2 separate regions of the Homo sapiens genome follow, and region 2 is linked to region 1. Evidence: promoter capture Hi-C in 16 types of primary human blood cells and fetal thymus (Javierre and others, 2016). All regions are on one chromosome and are shown on one strand. Each heading gives the region's core, a stretch centred on a gene start or on the middle of the fragment in contact. The rest is flanking DNA. Distances are from core to core; before and after follow the strand shown. Region 1 holds the start of PLEKHM3 (pleckstrin homology domain containing M3). Region 2 has its middle 50 kb from the start of CREB1.

Region 1 (3,594 bases), core at 250-2,749:
GCCAGCCTAAGTAAGAGGATGGGCCAGGAGTGAGAACTCTCATCAGAGGGAATCACATGTACAAAGTCCTGAGGCAAAAGAGAATACTGCAAATATTCTCTTTTGGTAATTAAAACAAAACAAAACAAAAAATGTACCTCTGGCCAGGTGAGGTGGCTCACACCTGTAATCCCAGCACTTTGGAAGGCAAGGAAGAAGGATTGCCTGAGGCCAGGAGTTCAGGATCATCCTGGGCAACACAGGGAGACCTTGCCTTTACAAAAAAAAAAAAAAGAGAAAGAAAGAAAAAAGAAGTTAGCCACGTTGTGGTGATGCGTGCCTGTAGTCCTAGCTACTCAGGAGGCTGAGTTGGGGGGATCCCTTGAACCCAGGAGTTCAGGGCTGCAGTGAGCTATGATCGTGCGACTGCACTCTGGCCGGGGCACAGAGTGAGATCCTGTCTCTAGCAAAACAGAAAAAAAAGTACCTCAAATTGCAGGGTTTAAAGAAAGCTTATTTAAACTTTGAATATCAACCAAAGGAAATTTTTTCTTAACTCAAAGCTTAAAGATTTGCTTATTAATCTTCTGGAGGGTGGGAAGGTGGGAAGAGGAATCAGAGTTTTAGATTTCTGTTTCATCCCTGACCCCTTTGACCTTTTTTTTTTTTTATCATTCCTTTGTTCATTCATTTATTCAGATATATATACATTGGGCCTGTGCTAGGTGCCTACTAGATGGTGGTGAGTGAAACTGAAATAGTGCCTGCCCTCAGGGAGTTTATAGGTGAGATGGGTGAGCGTGGGAAAACCAATAAAACTGATAAATAAGTGTGTACTTATAAAGTGAGAAAATGGCTAAGAAGTGTGCTATGATGGAAAACAGACAGGAAACTGCAAGGAAGGTCTGTCCAATCAGACCAGCATATCCCTGCAAAGCGACCACAGTCACTGCAGGTGGGATGTGGGCGGTCTTACCAGGCAGTCCTGCCCGCGTGCACACACACGCACACCCTATTTTGCTGGGAATCCGCAAGTGGGGGTGAAGACCTCACCTCAAAACCACCCCTTTTCAACCTGCGTAGGAAAGGACAGTGAAAACGGATTTTCACTGCAGCCCCAAAACCGGAAATGAGAAGCAATCTCCAGAATAGTCCCACTTTTGGAAAGAACTTATTTGAGTAATTAATTCCCTTAGACAAGGGAGCTGCTAAAAACCAGCCCGATCCTGACATGTTCTAAGTGACATTTTCCAATCGCAAACACCCATTTTGGCGTTGGGTGGAGCAGTGAGGAGACTCCACGACACACGCCATTGCTTTCACAATGTGTACAAGAGGAACTGTATATAAGAAAGCAAAGAAATAAGGAGGCCTGGCGGGTGCGGTCAGGCCTTGCCTAGCTGCCGGGTCCCTCGGGCAGGAAAGACTCGTCCTCGCGGCCTGGAACCTTGTGTGTCCGGCTCTGGCTGCCCGGGCCGCCGGCGGAAGCATTTCAGAGTGGGACCGCGAGAAGCCGCTTGTAAACAGAGCCGGGCCGGGATGGTCAGCGCCCGGGCGGGCTGTCACCGTGAGGCGGGCGGCAGGCTGCGGGAGTCAAGCCCCTCCAGGAGCGGACTGAAGGCCCCGCAGGTGAATGGAGAGTAGCAGCCGGGGCCCAGGTGAGCATCCGTCTGCTTCTGTGCTGCCTGGCCGGCCAGTTTGGGGGATGGGGTGGGGACGACTGCATTGTAAATATCCGAGCAGCTCCCAGGGATAGCAGTGATTTTGCTGTTTCTTGCATGCTCAGGTTTTTATTACGTGCTGGAGATTGTACCACACTGCAATGGCTAATGGGTGAGGGGAGATTACATGATGCATTGTCTGCTTATTTTTGTGAATCAGGTATGTAATAGGAGGAGAAAGTAGTTGAAATAGTAGGTGATCTTGTTGAGTGCGTTATTAGTATCCCTGCCATCCCCGCCTGGGGATTATAAAACCAAACCCCAGCAGAGCTTTTAACCTACATCAGGCTGGGGCTTCCAGAAAACGATTGTTCTTTCTGTCGACTCTGTCCGTTTTTAATGTATAGTAAATGACACCACATGACTGATGACAAGCATGGTTTGGTCTTGTAGGAAAGAATTATTAAGCTAAAAAATCAAGATAAGAAAATCTCACACTCATCCCTTAAACAAAAATAAATTACTACTGAGATATATATTTGGATGACAAATTGAGACTGGTCTGGATGTATACCTTGCAAAGCAAGACAAATTTGAATTTACCAGGTTAAACTGAGATTGAGCCATGCTGTTGTAAACTTATTTAGAAGTTTATTTCTCTCTTCTTTTTTCTTCCTTGGAAGGGACCAGAGAGAAACAGCTGAATTTTTTTCTCTATATTTTAAGTAATCGTAGTGAGTTGTGATTTGTATTTATAAAGTATTTTATTATAAAATACTACATGTAAATTATAATTGGCATACTTAAAATACAAGGCAGTTTTTGACTGACTGACTTCAAGAAAATGCCTTAACAAAAGCTGGGCTATATATCTAGTCTCTAAAAATATCAGTAGACATTTGTAACCTTGGTCACATAGTCTTTTAGACAGGAGATGAATATTAGGTTAAATTGCACCTACAATAGATAGATATACATAGAAGAAATGATACTAATTCCTGATGAGTTTTTCTTTACAATGAATATTTTTACAATGTCATGGTTTATAGCAAAAACTATAAAGCCAGACTACTTCAGTTTGAATTCCTGCTTGGTCACTTCCTAGTTGTGTAATCTTGGGCAGTTTACTTAGCGCTTCTGTTTCCTAATCTGTAGAATGGGAATAATAATAGTATTGACCTCATTAGGGTTTTTATTATTGTTATTTTATTTTATTTTATTTTATTTTATTTTATTTTATTTTGAGACAGGGTCTTACTCTGTCATTCGGGCTGGAGTACAGTGGCGTGATCATGGCTCACTGCAGTCTCGACTTCCTGGACTCAAGCGATCCTTCCACCTCAGCCTCCCTTGTGGCTGGAACCATAGGCACAAGCCACCACGCCTGGCTAATTTTTGTACATTTGGTAGAGACAGGGTTTCGCCATGTTGCCCAGGCTGGTCTTGAACTCCTGAGCTCAAGGCTTAGAACCGTACCTGGCATATAGTAATTGCTATATACATGTTTGTTAATAAATATATAAAATAAAAATATGCCAGTGTTGAAAGTGGAATGGTGATTACCAGGGCCTGGAGGGAGGCAGGCAATGGGGATTTGTTGTTTAATGCTGCGGTCCCCTGGTGGTTTTTGGCACCAGGGACCGGAAGACCATTTTTCCACAGAGCGGGTGGTGTGGGGTCGGGGAGTAGGGGGGTGATAGTTACGGGATGAAACTGTTCCACCTCAGATCATTAGGCATTAGTTAGATTCTCATAAGGAGCGTGCAACCTAGATCCCTCGCACGCACAGTTCACAATAAGGTTTGCGCTCCTATGAGAATCTAATGCTGCTGCCGATCTGACAGGAGGCGGAGCTCAAACAGCAATGCGTGGCTGGTCCATCGCTCACTGTTGTGTGGCCCAGTTCCTAACAGGCCATGGACCCGTACTAGTCTACAGACATGGGGGTTGGGGA
Region 2 (3,482 bases), core at 469-2,968, 550 kb after region 1:
GTGCTGGTATCTATGAAGGTCACTTAGGACCTGGGCTCCTTCCTGCTTCTCCACAGTCATCCTGGCTGGAAACTCAGCCATGTGTTTATGCCAGGCAAGAAGAAGTAGAGAGGCAGAGACCTGCAGAGCTGGTGCCTTTTTCAAAAGCTTTCCTGGCAGCTCCACCCTGTGATTTTTTGCTTACATTTAATCAGCCAGCACTAATTCCATGGCCTCCTCTAACCATCAGGGAATAATCCAGGTCAGGGCAGGGTTTTTAAACCGAGTACCTTGCCACCCCAAATGGATTTGAGTTCTCTTGATAAGAAAAAAAGGGAGAATACTTTTATTTTTGATTTTGAAGGTATTTATGTTATCCTGTTTGCCATCAAAAGGAAGTCAGAATTAATCTAGTTCTGTTACGATCTTTCATTTCCTGCTGTATATTATAGTACGTGGTAGACATTCAACAAATGTGGTTGATTGATGAATGGATTCATTTAACCAGTAATTATCAATCATACTACATGTCAGTGTTCTATGATATTTAAAAAGAAATATATATTCCTATCCTTGAGGGATTTATAGTTGCAATTTCAGACATTCATATATATGAAATGATTAGAGAACAATCCAACTGATAAAAAGAGCACAATTCTTCATCTGTGTTTTGCTTTCTATTGTTCGTGCTATTATTGTACTGCTACACTGGATTTGGTTCCAGGACTATTTTCATCAAATTATTTGGTTAAATATGCCCAGTGGTGCAGAAAAACAATGGAGGCATTAGATACTTGGGTTTTCATAGCATCAGGGTTGTGGATGGTCATACAGCTTTTGTGCTTCTCATTTTCTCTCTATAAAACATGCCATAGCAATGGCCATCCAGCATAGGCATTGGATAGACAAGGGGAGATGAAGACAATTAGGAGCATGCCTGGGCTCTGAAGTCAGGCTTCCTGGATTCCTCTTCCAGGTCTGCCATTTACTAGTGTAACCAAGGGTGTGTGTCCTACTTTCCCCATCCAACAAGTGGGGCAATAACTGTACAAACTACAGGGGCTGATGTGAAGCTTGTGCTAACATATGAAAAGTATTTAGAAAGAGCTTGGCATGTAGTAAACACTCAATAAAAGTTAGCTACTATTATGTAGTGTTTTCCAATGGTTTATTTAGAAGCAAAATAGTATCAGTCTAGAAGTCCAGGCTTGTTTTTCTCCCAAACATGTTTTCACAAGTGCTTCCATGGTCTCCTTCTCCTTTTCTTCTTCCTCTTCCTCTAAAAACATATTTTGCTGTGTCTGCTTGGTCATCTTTCACTGGGCCAGAGAAAGAATCCCTGAGGGTTGGACAAGGGGAGCAGCTGAGTTGGTGAGAAAAGGAGCCCAGCAGGTTGAATGCCTCGAACCACTGTGATGAGCTCTTGAGCTGGGTGCCAATCAAAGTGAAGCAGTGGGGCTTGCCAGGTGAGATGTTAATTTCAGCGGTCACACGTGTCCCTGTCTGGACTCTCCCTAGGACTCTTGACCCTACCCTGCAGTGGTTTGAAATGGATTTTATTAGGCTTTCATTACATTCTCATATCATTTTTTTCACTTGGTATCTAAGCTACACGAGAGCCAGTATAGTGCTTTGTCCTTGGCTAATACTCTACCCAGACCTCTCCTGAGTGTCCAGCTCTCTCTCTCTGCTGCACCAAATCTAGAGTGAGGTCAGGGGCTTAGAAACTCAACTCAACTTGTTAATCAATGAAGCGGTGAGGCTATTTTGTCCCTTTCTTAAACTTCTTTCTAAAGCAGAATTATAAATAGGATACTCTGTGACCTATGGGTCAAAAAGGGAACAATCGGGCAAATGATTTTTGATTGTAATATCTATTATGACCATAATATATTAATAATGAATGTCAAGGATTTGGCTCGAAGACAATAAAAGCAAAGGTGCCACATATGTGCTCTCTTTCTCCCTTTCTACAGTACTGATTTCATAACTTATCTTTAGGTAGAGTGGAAATTAGATTTTAAAAAGTGAGTAAAAGTTTTCACCCGAAAAAGTAATTTGTTAATTTTTATCTTGAATAACTCCTTGACTGATGAAACTCCATTTTGTCTTATACTGTTTGCAAACAAAAAAGAAACAATAATCCACACTAATAAGCACATCTGAGAATGCCTTTAAAACCCCTTTATTTGCCTAATTGGAGAAATTTTCTGGAATGATTGTCAATGGAAAACAGTTACAGCATTTGTGTCTAAATATATCTTCTTGCTTTTGTTCTACTTCCACCTGAGTGTTTTTAAAATTCTTATGTAGAGTTGATCTTCCTTTGTTAAGGATACTAGTTTTCAGAGTAAGGTTTTTTTTTTAAGAAAATCATTTAAAACATTTATACTACCCTAAGCTTCCACAGTTCTTGTTGAGAGTATTTTTCTCTTTGAATTTCAAGGGAGTGATGTCTTGTTGGCATGTTTGATGTTGTGGATGTGGGTTTCACTTTATTCGAGCAAAGCATTTAGAAAGCTCCAAGAATTTCTCTCATCTTCCTGGGTTGAGGGAAATGTAAACAGTGACAAACAGTTCTTCAAACTCTCCCTGATTTTTTTTCTTGTGGTGTTACTTTCCACAGAGTTCAAACACATGGGCTTTTAAGAAGAGATAATAATCTCATTTGACAGTAAGCAATAGTTATTATGACGCAGATTAGTCAGTATTTTGTGAAATATCAAATAATCAAGTAGTTTGGATCTGCTAGACCCCTCCCATTTCAATCATTATGCATGAAGTTGATGACCTTCATCCTTGTGACCCCACAAAGATCTTTATGACACTTATGTGTGAACTTAGAGCATTTTTCTACTCAACCGCAGCGCTGCTAACTCTGTTTGGGACGGAGGAGCTGCCTGTGCATTATAGGCTATTTAACAGCATCCATGGCCTCTCCCTATTAGATGCTAGTAGGACCCCTTCCTCTAGTGTGACAATAAACGGTGTATTCTGACATGGCCAAATGTCCCCGGGGAGCAATATTGCCTCCCATTGCCGTGGGGACCTCAGCCATCAACCTATGATGGGTAAAGGAAAAGATATTTTTCTTCTCCTACAGTTAAAAACATAAAAATTAGAAAATCCCCGGGAAATATTTTTATATCACCAGCAAATATCCTGACTAGTCAAAATGAGGCTTGCCATCAAAAGGAAGTCAGGATTCATCTATTTCTATTATGACCTTTCATTTCCTGCTGCATATTATAGTACATAGTAGACATTCAACAAATGCCTTTGCCTCCCATTGAGAACCACTGTCTTACAGCAATCTTCAGTCCAGGAGTATAGTGACAGTTTTTCACTACAATGAACAAAATTACTAGAGGATGTTAGGAGTTAGAAACCCCAGATTGCTGATGGGGCAACATAGGCACAGAAGTTTACACATGCCCAGTCTGTCGTAAGAGAGGGAGGCCGAGTCCCACTTCCCATAGTGCTTGGATCAGTCTGCCTGATAG

Evidence for each region. The method cuts DNA at HindIII sites, captures the fragments that hold promoters and counts their contacts. A CHiCAGO score of 5 or more calls a contact.
Region 2: a contact is called between a fragment that was not itself captured here and the fragment with the promoter of PLEKHM3 in region 1, in 1 of 17 cell types (total CD8 T cells). The highest score is 5.6, in total CD8 T cells.

What each region holds. Positions count from the first base shown.
Region 1 is chr2:208,023,432-208,027,025 of GRCh38, reverse strand. PLEKHM3 (pleckstrin homology domain containing M3) reads left to right here and starts at 1,499. Exons shown (of 8, transcript NM_001080475.3): 1 at 1,499-1,637. The HindIII fragment of the contact is 3,995 bases long and covers 545-3,594 here.
Region 2 is chr2:207,478,639-207,482,120 of GRCh38, reverse strand. No RefSeq gene overlaps it. Among named protein-coding and RNA genes, the nearest start is that of CREB1, 50 kb to the left of the region's middle. The HindIII fragment of the contact is 1,328 bases long and covers 1,055-2,382 here.